4 separate regions of the Homo sapiens genome follow, and regions 1, 3 and 4 are each linked to region 2. The links are contacts of gene promoters, found by promoter capture Hi-C in blood cells and fetal thymus (Javierre and others, 2016). All regions are on one chromosome and are shown on one strand. Each heading gives the region's core, a stretch centred on a gene start or on the middle of the fragment in contact. The rest is flanking DNA. Distances are from core to core; before and after follow the strand shown.

Region 1 (3,664 bases), core at 1,116-3,615, 740 kb before region 2:
ATCCAACCTCATAATAAAGCTTCTGGGAATTCTTTACCTAGACATTGGGGCACCCCTCTTTGTTGAAATCTTTGTTGAACATGTGTAAAGGACTGTGTCAGTACATGTGACACAGAAGAAGGTAGGCCCCAAAAAGCGGACTTAAAGAAAGGTGCTCATGTGTCCTGGCCTACCGGTTTAGGTCAGGGAGATAATGGTGCAGTAGAAAATCAGCAGAGCTGTGACATTACATCTGAGATTGAACAAAGAGAAAAAGCATTTCTATTATTGACAGTTACTAATATTACCTTCCATTTGCTGAATGCTTACTGTGTCTCACACACAGTGCTAAGCAATCTCTATTAAACCTTCCAAAGATGGCAAAACATAACTATGCTTTATCCAGGGCTTGCCTATCCTATGGGCTCATCTTTAAAATGGAGGATGGGGTGGTAATTTTATAGATAAGTAAACTAATTCTCCTTTTTAAATTCACACAGATAGTAAGTGGCAGAACAAGGATTCCTGAGTCTATGTCCTAAAAATCCAATTGGTTTTCAGGATATCACACTAACTCTATTAAAAGTAAATAACTTTAAAAAAAAATACCAAGTATCTATTTCTTGCCAAGACTTATGATTCAGAGCAGTTAGAAGGTCTCATTTAGGTAATAGGAAAATAGAGTGGTAACTGGCAATATGTACTTCTGAAGAAACACGAACTTAATCAGTACTAGGAATCAATATGTGTCCTAAATATACCTTTTTCTAAAACTAGCTCTAAATCCATTAAGGTTGTTAGACATTGAAGTTCTTTTGTAGCTCTAAAATTCTCTTTTTCTAATAATGAAATCTGACTTCAACCGCATGCTCTGAGAAAAAGTACTTTATCTGAAGACTAAAATTACTGAGAGCACATTTTAGGTCAATCAAATGAATGTTTCCTCCTAATTTACAACAAACTATTTTGATTCTCTAATTCTGTGAAGCTTATTTTAATTTCCTAGATGAAAGTAAAACAGAAACATAAAACGATATAGTCACTTTTTTTAGTAAAAATAATGGATTTTTTTTTTCATTTGTTTTCTACATGTGTACATGCGCAGGCCTACATGTGAATGTGTTTTACCCTGCAGGGAGAATTAATTAACTAGAAAACTAGTTGATCTATGGGGTTTACTAGAAAAGAGAATTTTAAGAACTTTACCTGGTGCTACTTTAACCCATTTTTCTTGTTAATATAGGTTTTATGATCTTACCTTTATATTTCTGTGGAATATGGAGAAAATGTTTTTATGTTTCTGTGGATTAGATAGATTTTAGATATAAAAACTTTCTAAAAGTCTTTACACAATTTACACCTTTAGTGTTGGAAATGGTGTAATAATGAAATACACAGCATAGCAAATTGTAAAAAATAACACTGACCATTTAAAACAGAGGGGAAAAATTAAATAGAAAAATTGGACATGTGAAAAAGTATACTACAGACACAGATTATGGTAGGAACATAAGTAGTTCCTAAGAACTGACTGACTTTTATGATTATTAACTGTATTTTGAAGTCTTGCATAATGATGAATATCTGCTTTTTTTCCTCTCTCTTAAGGCATAGCTTTTGGAAAATACATTCACATTCATTTTCTATGTGGCTGTGTTCTTTCTGAAATTTTTCTATGAATTGATGTGCATTGATGTCAGCATTTCCTATTGAACTTTCCTACCTTCTCTGCCATGCTTCTAGGTTGTTTTGTGAAACGCATTTTCTCATACCCTCATGTACAGACCGCAAATTTGGTAGAAACAATACTGGTGATTGAATATCAACACCGTTGGGTAAGTGTTTGAGATTATGATCAGCACCACTTTATGCTAACAAATATTTAAAATCTACATGAAATGGGGAAAGTCCTTAAGAGATTCAAGTTGTTAAAACAAATTAATCAAGATATAGAAAATCTGAATAGATATAGCCACTAGAAAAATGGAATTTGTAGTTTTAAACCTTCCCACAATGCAAACTCAAGACCCAGATAACTTCCTTGGTGAAATTCATGCCAGCATCTTAAGAATTTTACATGAACTCTTCTAAAATTTTGAGCATGAAAGAAAATATTCACAATTACATTTTGAGATCAGAATTAGCCTATTACCAAAACCATACAAAAATATTTTTTAAAAATAGTTGGCTTATCTCTTATGAAGAGAGCAAGAAAATAGTTAAAAATATAAATAAATGAAATATAGCAATATATGAATGAATAATATAACATGAGCAGGTGGAGTTTATCCTAGAAATACAAGTTTGGAATAACATTCAAAAATAAACCCCTACATTTCATCATTATGAAAGAGAAACTGATACAGAAGCTAGAAATAACTTACTTAGGCAGATAGGAAGGGGAAGAGTTCTTGGTTTTCCTTTTAATAAAAAGCAATCCTCAAATAATATCTTTTTTATTATACTTTTAAGTTCTGGGGTACATGTGCAGAACTTGCAGGTTTGTTTCATAGGTATACACGTGCCATGGTGGTTTGCTACACCCATCAACCTGTCACCTACATTAGGTATTTCTCCTAATGCTATCCCTCCCCCAGGCCCACACCCCGCCACAGGCCCCGGTGCATGACGCTGAGAATGATAGTTTCTAGTTTCATGCATGTCCCTGTAAAGAACATAAACTCATTCTGTTTGATGGCTGCATAGTATTCCATGGGGTGTATGTGCCACATTTTTTTATCCAGTCTGTCATTCATAGGCATTTGGGTTGGTTCCAAGTCTTTTCTATTGTGAGCAGTGCTGAAGTAAACATATGTGTGCATGTGTCTTTATAGTAGAATGATTTATAATCCTTTGGGTATATAACTAGTAATGGGACTGCTGGGTCAAATGGTATTTCTAGTTCTAGATCCTTGAGGAATCGCCACACTGTCTTCCACAATGGTTGAACTAATTTACACTCCCACCAACAGTGTAAAAGCCTTCCTATTTCTGTGCATCCTATCCAGCATCTGTTGTTTCCTGACTTTTTAATGATCACCATTCTAACTGGCATGAGATAGTATCTCATTGTGGTTTTGATTTGCATTTCTCTAATGACCAGTGATGATTAGCCTTTTTTCATATGTTTGTTAGCCGCATAAATGTCTTCTTTTGAGAAGTGTCTGTTCACATCCTTCGCCCACTTTTTGATGGCGTTGTTATTTTCTTGTAAATGTGTTTAAGTTCTTTGTAGATTCTGGATATTAGCCCTTTGTCAGATGGATAGATTGCAAAAATGTTCTCCCATTCTGTAGGTTGCCTGTTCACTCTGATGATAGTTTCTTCTGCTGTGCAGAAGTTCTTTAGTTTAATTAGATCCCATTTGTCAATGTTGGCTTCTGTTACCTTTGCTTTTGGTGTTTTAGTCATGAAATCTTTGCCCATGCCTATGTCCTGAATGGTATTGCCTAGGTTTTCTTCTAGGGTTTTTATGGTTTTAGGTCTTATGTTTAAGTCTTTAATCAATCTTTAGTTAATTTTTGTATAAGGTGTAAGAAAGGGATTTTTTTCAGGTTTCTGCACATGGCTAGCCAGTTTTCCCAACACCATTTATAAAATAGGGAATCCTTTCCCCATTACTTGTTTTTGTCAGGTTTTTCAAAGATCAGATGGTTGTAGATGTGTGGTGTTATTGCTGAGGCCA
Region 2 (3,207 bases), core at 638-3,137:
ACAAAAACTACAAAAATTAACTGGGCAGGGTGGCACACACCTGTAGTCCCAGCTATTCAGGAGGCTGAGGTGGGAGAATCTCCTGAGCCCAGGAGGTTGAAGTTGCAGTGAGCCATGATCTCTCCACTGCACTCCAGCCTGGGCAACAGAGCAAGACCCTATCTCTAAATAAATAAATAAATGACGTCTGTAGTCTAGTTAACTGTAATGTCCCAACGTAAATTTCCTGTTTTCTACATTGTCCTACAGTTGTATAGATGTCTTTGGAGGACACTGGAGGTATTATTTTTGCAACTTCCTGTGAATCTACAATGATTCAAAAGAAAACATTAAAGAATGTTCTAATATAAAGAGACTTTGAAAAGATGAGAGAAGAAAACCAGCTTTGCCAAAGTCTTTCCCGTTGCACAGGTAGTTTTCTTTGGCGGTCGCTTTATCAGCAATAACCTATTAACTTTCCTTCCTCCAGAGACACATGACATACCATCCTTTTGAAAAGTTGCCAGTTGAATAGAAGCCGTCTTAGACCAGGACAGACAAAAAAGTTGCATTAAAAAAATGGTTCTAAAAAACATCAGCCTACCCTTTTTCCAGATTACCAACTGTTACCATTTAACCCATCGGCTTTATGGCGTGGGATCTATCAATCTGCATCCTTGTTTCAGAACCATTTGATGTAAGTTTCATAAATCTTGTGCCTTTGCTCCTACTTACTTCAGTGTTTATTTCCTAAAAATATTCTCTTGTACACTGACAGTACAATGTGCAATTTCAGTAAATTTAACATTAATTCAATACTTCCATCATCGACCTGACACTGAGACTCATGCCTGTAGTCCTGGCACTTTGAGAGGCCAAGGCAGGAGGATCACTTGAATCCAGGAAATCGAGGCTGCAGTGAGTTATGATGGCATCACTGCACTCCAGCCTGGGCGGCAGAGGGAGACCCTGTCCGTAAAAAAAAGAAGAGAAAAGACAAGGAAAGAAAATACTTCCATCATCTCTGTTCCACTTTCGTCTGTTGTCACGGTACCGTCCAGTCCAGTCACAGTACCGGTTGGACCAATCTGGCTAACCCATTGTTTAGCCAATGGGTTACATGTTAACAGTTGGTAATCTGCAAAAAGAGTATGCTGATGTTCTTTTGAACTACTTTTTTAAATGCAGTTTTTGCATTTGTCCTGGCCTAAAACGCCTTCCATCCGTCTGGAAACTTTTCAAAAGGATGGTATGTCATGTGTCTGGGGAGGAAGGAAAGTTAACAGGTTATTGCGGATAAAGGAACCACCAAAGAAAACCACTTCTGCAACGGGAAAAGGCTTTGGCAAAGGTGTTTTCCTTCTTTCAGCCTGGGGTCTGGCTGCACCTACTTGTCATGCCTCTTTGAGGTCGTAGATATTGCAGATCTGAGTTTGCACCATCTCTCCCAGAGAGAGAGAGCACCCAGAACTCTCACGGTACCGCGCGGCTGCAGTGACTGCGTGCTCATCCCCTGTAATTGGCTCTGACGGTCCTGAAGAGCTAACTGGACTGTTTGTCTTGATCGTCCCATCCCCAGGAGCTTCTCTCTGTTGCGGGTGGGTTGGGGCAGAGGAGCCCCGCTTTGGGGTGCGCTCCTGGCCTGGGAAAACGGCTCAGGGCGGAGGGAGGAGAGCTGGAGAAGGAGAGGAAATTGGGGAAGGAGAGGGAATTGGGGAAGGAGAGGGAACTGGGGAAGGAATCCCCTAGGGAGGAGCGGAGCGGGGCAGTGCTCAGGGCTCGCAGATCGGCGGGGTCACCTGGGGCTCAGGGCGGCCAATCCGCGGCGCGGCCCGTCCCGCGGCCAATGGGAGGGCGGCGCGGCCCGCTCCCCTGGGCTATAAGCGAGCCGGGAGGCGGAAAGTGAAAGCGGTGCGGGCCGGGCGGGTGCATTCAGGCCAAGGCGGGGCCGCCGGGATGCTCAGGGTTCCGGAGCCGCGGCCCGGGGAGGCGAAAGCGGAGGGGGCCGCGCCGCCGACCCCGTCCAAGCCGCTCACGTCCTTCCTCATCCAGGACATCCTGCGGGACGGCGCGCAGCGGCAAGGCGGCCGCACGAGCAGCCAGAGACAGCGCGACCCGGAGCCGGAGCCAGAGCCAGAGCCAGAGGGAGGACGCAGCCGCGCCGGGGCGCAGAACGACCAGCTGAGCACCGGGCCCCGCGCCGCGCCGGAGGAGGCCGAGACGCTGGCAGAGACCGAGCCAGGTAAGCGGCGAGGCCGGGGAAGGGGGGCAGCCCAAGGCGGACCCCCAGAGCTCGGGGTGCAGGGACGCGGGGCTCCGCGGCGACAGGCAGAGGGACCTTCCCGCCTCCGCAGCCACGCGCGCGCCCCCGGAATGAACCCTGAGCCCCAGCGTCAGGGCGGCGCAGGATTCTGACACCGCAGGACTCGCCCGGCTCCGTGCCCTCCGCTCCCTGGGGCTCAGAAGCCGGCGCGACTGCAGCGCCACCGCCCTCCACCGTCCCAGGAGCGGATCCCGCCCCGCGCCACCCGCGATCGGCGCCAGCCCCCCGGTAGTTATGAGAACTAATAATAACTTATTAACAGTGACAAAGCAGGGGTTGACCAGCAAAGCCTCCGTGTGCTTCCCAATCCCGTGGGCAGTAAAGCGGTATATTCGGGGTTCCCTCCGGTGTCCAGGAGAGAGAGTCCACTTATTTTCTTTCCTGTCACTTCTGATGAGGCGACCGAACGCCTCGTTTAGCGAAGAGGGAATTAAAGCCCAGAATGAGCCTGCCTCTGCGTCTCCAGTGGCACAAGCCCTCTCTTGCCCACCTGGATCCTAACACCGGATGTCTTTTGGTCTGGCCTTCCCGGGTATCTTGTTCCACGGCATTTTCCCTGCCTCCCTCTCCCGCCTCTCCTCAGCACACAGATCCAGAATCCCCATATAATTCTACTAGACAGTAGGGAGAAAGTTCAACCACGAAACGTCTCTAACTTTGGGTTCTTGATGATTCTTAGCAAATGAATGCGTAATAAACATATTTACTCACTCTTCACTCCGGAGAGCTCCTTAGTCATGTGAAAAAAGTGAAATGTATCCACGATGACAGTGGGCTGTTTGTTCACTCACTAAAGAGATAAGGGTGGATTGAATTCTGTTCTCTTCCCTGCTAACATGTAACTTTTGTCTTCCCATCCCTCCTTCCCCACTCTCCTTTCCAGAAAGGCACTTGGGGTCTTATCT
Region 3 (3,298 bases), core at 630-3,129, 550 kb before region 2:
TACTTTGTGAACTTATATTGTAAATATGTTATAATCTTATGTTTTACATGATAAAAAGTACATATATGAGAACAGAGTAGGTTTTTTTTTTCTTTGTATCATCCTTTAAGGGAGGAAAATAGATTACTATTTAGTGTCACATATTGTTGTGTCTTCACTAACATTCTCTCATTGACAAAAAAGTAGAGCCAGGGTGAAGCAATGGAACCATTGATTTTAAAGCCTATGGTCCCCCTGCATACCCATGGCCTCACAAAGCTAGGTTCTTTACATTCAATCCTGCCCACATTTTATCAAGACTTTTAAAATCTGCCTCTGATCCTTTTGAGTATCCAAGGTCATCTATTCTTATAGGCTAAGCTCATCTCACTTTGTCCTTTGATTCCTGCAAAACATACTGCTCTCCCTTTTCTCTGAACAGCTATAAAATGTAGACTACTTTGTCACATAAATGTCAGCATTCATATACATTTTTTGGTCTTATCCAGTTATATTATATGATAGTACTTTCTAGCCTTCAACATTCTGTCCACTGGATTACACTTCAATCAGCTTCTTTGTCCTGCTAAAATCCAGCATCAAGTTGAGTATCTGATACTCAGGAGTATGTGTGATTAAATAGAAGTATTTGTAGACTCATGAAATGTCAAAAGCATTATGAGGATACACGGGAGGCTTGGGAGTGCCTTTTTATTTAACCTCACCACCTCTGTGCACACACTAATGATTGAAGTAAAAAAAAAAAATACTAGAGAGCAATAGAAAGGTTAAAAATTTAAGTACCGGCCAGCGCGGTGGCTCACGCCTGTAATCCCAGCATTTTGGGAAGCTGAGGAGGGTGGATAACGAGGTCAGGGGTTCAAGACAAGCCTGGCTGACATGGTAAAACCCTATCTCTACTAAAGATACAAAAAATTAGCCAGGCGTGGTGGTGCATGCCTGTAATCCCAGCGACTCGGGAGGCTGAGGCAGGAGAGTTGCATGAACCTGGCAGGCGGCGGTTGCAGTGAGCCGAGATCATGCCATTGCACTCCAGCCTGAGCAACAGGGGGAGACTCTGTCTGAAAAAAAGAAAAAAATTAAGTACCTAGTAGCAAACTAATAAAATAATATTTTAGGGCAGTTTTAAAATTAGAGCTTAAACAATAGAGATGACTAGTAAAAATGATTTTTGAACTGTGTCCCACGCAGTTCTAGGGTCGTATCAGGCTTCCAAAGAGACTTTGGGGGAAATGAAGATCTAAGTTGGCCAAGCTCAGCTTCCTCAACACAGCCTGAGGTGGAATGGTTCCACAGTCTTTCATTTTATTTTGTATTTTTGCATTCTGTGGAATATTTCATCCATAAAAAGGGGCTCAGCTGATTAAACCAATTGATAATTTTAGAAACCACCAATTTGGTTCAATGCTTTGTTTTTAGGAATGAAGAAATTGTAGGTCAGCCAGTGCAAATGGTTTGTTTGACCTCACCCAGCTAGATCATGGTGGATTTGAGACAATACACAGATTCAAGAAGCATTTATAAAGTACTGGCTGATTACTAGAGGTCCTGGTTGCTAAGTACTTCCACATATTCTCCAGCATTCATAACGTAGCCTCTAGTTTCAGGATAGAAAGATTTGCCCTAGTAGCAACTTGTTGAGTGACTAGGTTGTCAAGAAAAATATTTCTTGTACCTTTCCCATTCAGAAGCCATGCTAATGTTATTTTTAAATATAGTGAAGACTGCTTGATATTTTTATACATGATAATTTTGTTTAAAAATACTGATGTAAAGGAATTATGTGCCTCTACCGTATCTTTTCCCCTCTAAACGGGCTTGAAGGGAATTTCTGCCTTCAACTAAGCCTCCATCACCCAAGTGATTTCTACATAGAGGCGACCACGAGAGGGCGCCAAAGACATTGCTCTCAAATCTGCATCCACTTGGAGGCTACGTTTTTTATTTCATTGTAAATTTAGAGGAAGTGGGTGGGGAAGCCCAAGGCCTGGGAAAATGACCATAATAATGGTACCTCGTGTTTATATAGCACCTTTCTTCAATTAACTCAGCATGTTGGGATATGATTATTCAGCTGGGAGCTTCCAGTTGTGGGAAATGAGGCACAAGGCAAACACGTGGCCTAGGTGGGACAGAGGGTAAGACTAATTCTTACTCATTTCAAACGTCCATTCATTATTTTTACTCTCAAAAGCTGATATGTGACGTTTCCTGCACATTTCCTTAGAAACAATAAGCTGAGAAGTCAGAGGCCCAAACTCGAATAGATTAAATGGAAATATTCATTCTGCAAGGGAAAGAAATCACACTCCTCCCAGAGCCAAGGAAGGAAGTAAAACCAAATTTTAAAAATTATATAATCAAATTATAAGATGTCAAGTGGAATGTATTATTTTGCAAAGTACATCATGAAAACAACATAGCTTTAAAAAAAATCTTAGCTACATCCTTAAACAAATCTACTCAAATTTGTAATGTAAGTCATTCATCTTTTCTTCGTCCAAGATGACAACAAAAGTAAAGAACAGGCAGGAGAATCGCTTGAACCCGGGAGGTGGACGTTGCAGTGAGCCCAGATCGCGCCACTGCACTCCAGCCTGGGCGACAGAGCGAGACTCCATATCAAAAAAAGAAGAAAAAAATAAAAAATAATAATTAAAAAAGAACAAATTGAACTTTAAAAAGCTAAACTTTAGTACTGCTAAAGAAAATATTATTCCAGAGTTTAATGTGTTAAATAAATGTGCCTCCCAGCACTTTGGGAGGTCGATGCGGGTAGATCACCTGAAGTCAGGAGTTTAAGACCAGCCTGGCTGACGTGGTGAAACCCCATCCCTACTAAAAATACAAAAATTAGCTGGGCATGGTGGCAGGCACCTGTAATCCTAGCTACTCAGGAGGCTAAGGCAGGAGAATCGCTTGAAACCAGGAGGTGGAGGTTGCAGTGAGCCAAGATTGTACCAATGCACTTCAGCCTGGGCAACAAGAGTGAAACTCCATCTCAAAACGAGTAAATAAAAACAAACAAATGTGCCAAGGTGAATTAGTAGAGAAACGTTAAGAAAGATAATTTGATTAATAGACAATTAGGTCTGTGGCTTAATCATCGACGAATAATATTGCTATAGTGAATGATTCCAGTGAGAGCATTTGCAAAGACTGGTATGTAATACACGACTAAGATGCTGTCTTCCTCTAGAGTCATTTCGGGTCTCTCCTACAAATTCAAGGTCTTGAGTTTTTTCAAAGTATGAAGCACGGTCTCTAACTTCAAAATTAATACGTGGGCATTTACTCA
Region 4 (3,441 bases), core at 603-3,102, 520 kb before region 2:
TAAACACTGTATACAATTTCTAAACAAGAGTGAAATTATTTAGAAACATCTTGATCATATCTCCATAACACTTAAAATTCATCCAATATATTTGTTTCTTTTGTACACAGATATATTTCTAGTTCTTAAGACTGTATTTGCTCTATATTGGTATTCAATGATATTTGTTTACTTATATTTTTAAGTTGTAAAACAAGTAAAAATGAAATAGGCCAGAATGAATATGGCCAAATTACAATACCCCACTTACAAGCTGTCACATTACTGAGTAGCTAATGTATTGCTTTTCAAATAGCATATTAAGTGTTGAAGAGAATCTTCATTTTTGTCTTGATCTTGAAGGTAAAGGGACTAATACTGGCTGTTTCTTTGAGATAGCACACGTGTGTGCATGTGTGCATGTGTGTGTGTATTTTGGTGGGTAGGAGGAATCCTTGGTACAAAGAGCTAATGTAATCATAGTCTTCAGTAAATGGAACATTGTCATCATTGAGCTGCACAACCTGTTCTTCTGGTTTCTTGTTTTTGATTCATCCATTGATTTATTTGTGCATTTACTCAATTTTCTCATATCTCACTATGTCTCAACTATTCTAAATGATGTATAGCCTTTTTTACTTGTTCTTATATTCATTGCTGTTTTGTAGACATGTAATTTTGAATTTTAAATTTAATTTTTTTAAGGATTGTGTTAAGCTTCCTAGTTTTGCCCTTCATCACTGCTTTTAGGGTCAATCCATGTTTCTGTGTGTATATCTAGTGTGTTATTATTAACTCAGACTCATCCTCCATGGGGTTTACCTACAACACACACCTAATGGCTTCTCCAGTGATGGACATTCTACATTTCTACTACCCACTAACACAAATACTGCTGCAGTGAGTATCAGAGGGCATGTTTTTGAGTTTCTCTAGGATCATATGCCTTGGAGAAGGATCCGTGGGTCATGGGGAATAGATGGATTTAATTAGACTAAACATTGCTGGGTGGTTATGCAAAATAAGCTGTACCACCCTTCCATGAAAAGGGCATAATATATCCACAGCCACACTCCCCACTACCAACTGTCTAATTTATCACCCTCTGACAGACATAAAGTGATAATTATGGATGTTTCTATTTTTATTTTTAATACAATTGAGCATCTCTTTGAGATCTTCTATTCTGTGAATTCCTGTTCAAACCTCTTACCCATTTTCTATTAGGGTTCATGTCTTTTTCTTCTTATTTGCAAGTGTTTCTTATAACTTTTATATATTAATCCCTTGTCAATTTTAGACATTGCAAACATCTTCTCTCAGTCTAAATTTTCCATAATGTTCTATATTTAAGATAAATCTTTAATTTTTATGTAAATACATTTTGCCCTGATGCTTTCTGCATTTGAGGTTTTTATCAAATCTCAAGTGTTAATTATTTTAAAGTTATAAAATACCAAGTACCTAATGTACGTTTTTTTTTTTCAAATAGCATCTTAGTTAAGTGTTGCAGAGAATATTTTAGTTTATGTCCTGATCCTGAATGTCAAGGAGTTGCTCATCAATTCTAGACAGAAATACATTGTATAACTTTATGGTTTACCATTAAAATTTGACCTTTAGTCCATCTGCATCTAACATTATATATAGTTTTGATGAGGATTTATCTTCCAGTTCTATTCCTTTACCACTGTAAGGAATAAGCCAGGTATGTGATTATGTATCTGGAAAAAGATATATATTCAGGCAGAGGAATAGCAAGTATAAAATCCCTATGTGGAAATCAGCTTGGCATCTTCCGGGATCGGGAAGAATTCCACTGTGGTAGGAGAGCACAGAGCTAGGGAAGGAGCCATCATAAGTGAAGAAGTAGGCAGGAGCCATTCAGCAGAGTCCTTGAAGCCATGGGAAAATGGTAGATTTCATTCTAAGTGTAATTGCAATCCATTGGAGGGTAAGTAGAGTCACACAATTTGAGTTATGTTTTAAAGTAGATTTCCATGGGGCTTTCAATGATGGATGAGATTAAGAGCATTCTACTTCTTTTCTCCTGCTAATTATAACTTAACACTTCAAACAGAATACAAAAGCAACTAATAGAAGACTCTAAATAAATGAGTATTTGAAAAACCAGGTTCATTAGAGGCCTCAGGACTCCCCTGAGGTTATATTTTATTTTCCTTTTTTTTTTTTTTTTTTTTTTTTTCCCCTACTGACCTGATTTGCAGGCTATTGGGCTGATCCTAAACCCATTTGGTCCTGGGCATTACTGGTTCTGATGAGTGAATAATACCTGCTGTCTAAACATAAGCAGCCCCAAATCTTTTGTGTCTTATAAGAAACTGCTTTGGTGACTCCTACCTTTTCCAACAAAACATCATGTCCAGTGTGCATATACATATCTAGTTTGAATATTTCAAAAGAAATATCACCACTCAATATGTACTCACTTGAGGCTTTTAAAGGATACATGAGAAAGAGAATGCAAGCAGGTATTGGAAGTCTCCAGAGATATCCCATAGCTTGAACTCCCCAGGGCTCCATCTGCATATTAGGACTGGGCAGTGTCCTAGTGTGTCCATGATTTGAACTGTCATCTGTGTAAAAAACCTTGGCTCCAGGGGAGCACTCCAAAAAAATCTCAGTAGCTCTTTTAGTCAAACCAGGCTTATCAGACCAGTTAGTCCTGTTGCCTAACCATAAGTTAAGAAGGTAAACTTGGAATATGGCAAGGATGTTTCGGTCCCTAAACAGTACATCATAAATGCCACTGACCTTAAGAGTAAAAAACTTCCAATGTCTAAATATCCCCAAAGATTAAAAACAGAATATTTCCAGTACAGTTGTAAGTCAGCTCTATTCCAACAGCCTTCTAACTCTTGGTCAAAGCATTGCAAGTACAAATTGCTGATGGGTGTTCCTTTCCCTCTATCTTTCATATTATTTACAGAAAAAAAGAAAGAACAACTGCTAGAATACTATTTATTTGTATCAACAAAAAGTGTGGGTATAACTGTAAAGAAAGCTTTCAGTTTGCCAAAGATTCTAGAAGATTCCAGTGCAAACTTCTTCATAGTCATGCACAAGCTTGACAACAATTTGACAACCCTCTGCCACTAAAATGTAAACTTTATAAAGGGTATCAATGGATTGATCCAATGGAACGATTAATTCATTGTTAATAAATCTAGTTCCTCCTTTGCCCAATCAGCTTCTATTGGAAGAAAATCTTGTAAAGATTTTAATTCAATCTGACAATATATTTGGTCATCAATATCAGTGTTATAGGTTTAGTAAAAATCCATTAAATTAACCTTATAATTATACCAGCATTACACCAATTACCAATTACATTATGAATTAGATTAAGATCACTACAAAACAAGTCAGTTAAAATTACTGTCACATTTCCCTGGCTTTCCCAGCAAAAAGTGATTTTGTCCATACACCTAATGTTGTCAT

What was found. The method cuts DNA at HindIII sites, captures the fragments that hold promoters and counts their contacts. A CHiCAGO score of 5 or more calls a contact.
Region 1: a fragment that was not itself captured here is called in contact with the fragment with the promoter of NKX3-1 in region 2 in 1 of 17 cell types (total B cells); the score reaches 5.4 in total B cells.
Region 3: a fragment that was not itself captured here is called in contact with the fragment with the promoter of NKX3-1 in region 2 in 1 of 17 cell types (M1 macrophages); the score reaches 5.1 in M1 macrophages.
Region 4: a fragment that was not itself captured here is called in contact with the fragment with the promoter of NKX3-1 in region 2 in 1 of 17 cell types (total B cells); the score reaches 6.0 in total B cells.

The regions. Positions count from the first base shown.
Region 1 is chr8:24,423,107-24,426,770 of GRCh38, reverse strand. All of the region lies in intron 1 of ADAM7-AS1 (ADAM7, ADAMDEC1 and ADAM28 antisense RNA 1), which reads left to right. Among named protein-coding and RNA genes, the nearest start is that of ADAM7, 16 kb to the left of the region's middle. The HindIII fragment of the contact is 2,792 bases long and covers 970-3,664 here.
Region 2 is chr8:23,681,618-23,684,824 of GRCh38, reverse strand. NKX3-1 (NK3 homeobox 1) reads left to right here and starts at 1,887. Exons shown (of 2, transcript NM_006167.4): 1 at 1,887-2,221; 2 at 3,186-3,207. The coding sequence starts at 1,936. All of the region lies in intron 3 of LOC107986930 (a long non-coding RNA gene), which reads right to left. RefSeq lists silencers at 1,706-2,215, 2,256-2,305. The HindIII fragment of the contact is 16,626 bases long and covers 1-3,207 here.
Region 3 is chr8:24,228,123-24,231,420 of GRCh38, reverse strand. No RefSeq gene overlaps it. Among named protein-coding and RNA genes, the nearest start is that of ADAM28, 64 kb to the left of the region's middle. The HindIII fragment of the contact is 7,534 bases long and covers 1-3,298 here.
Region 4 is chr8:24,197,337-24,200,777 of GRCh38, reverse strand. All of the region lies in intron 2 of LOC107986931 (a long non-coding RNA gene), which reads right to left. Among named protein-coding and RNA genes, the nearest start is that of ADAM28, 95 kb to the left of the region's middle. The HindIII fragment of the contact is 2,308 bases long and covers 699-3,006 here.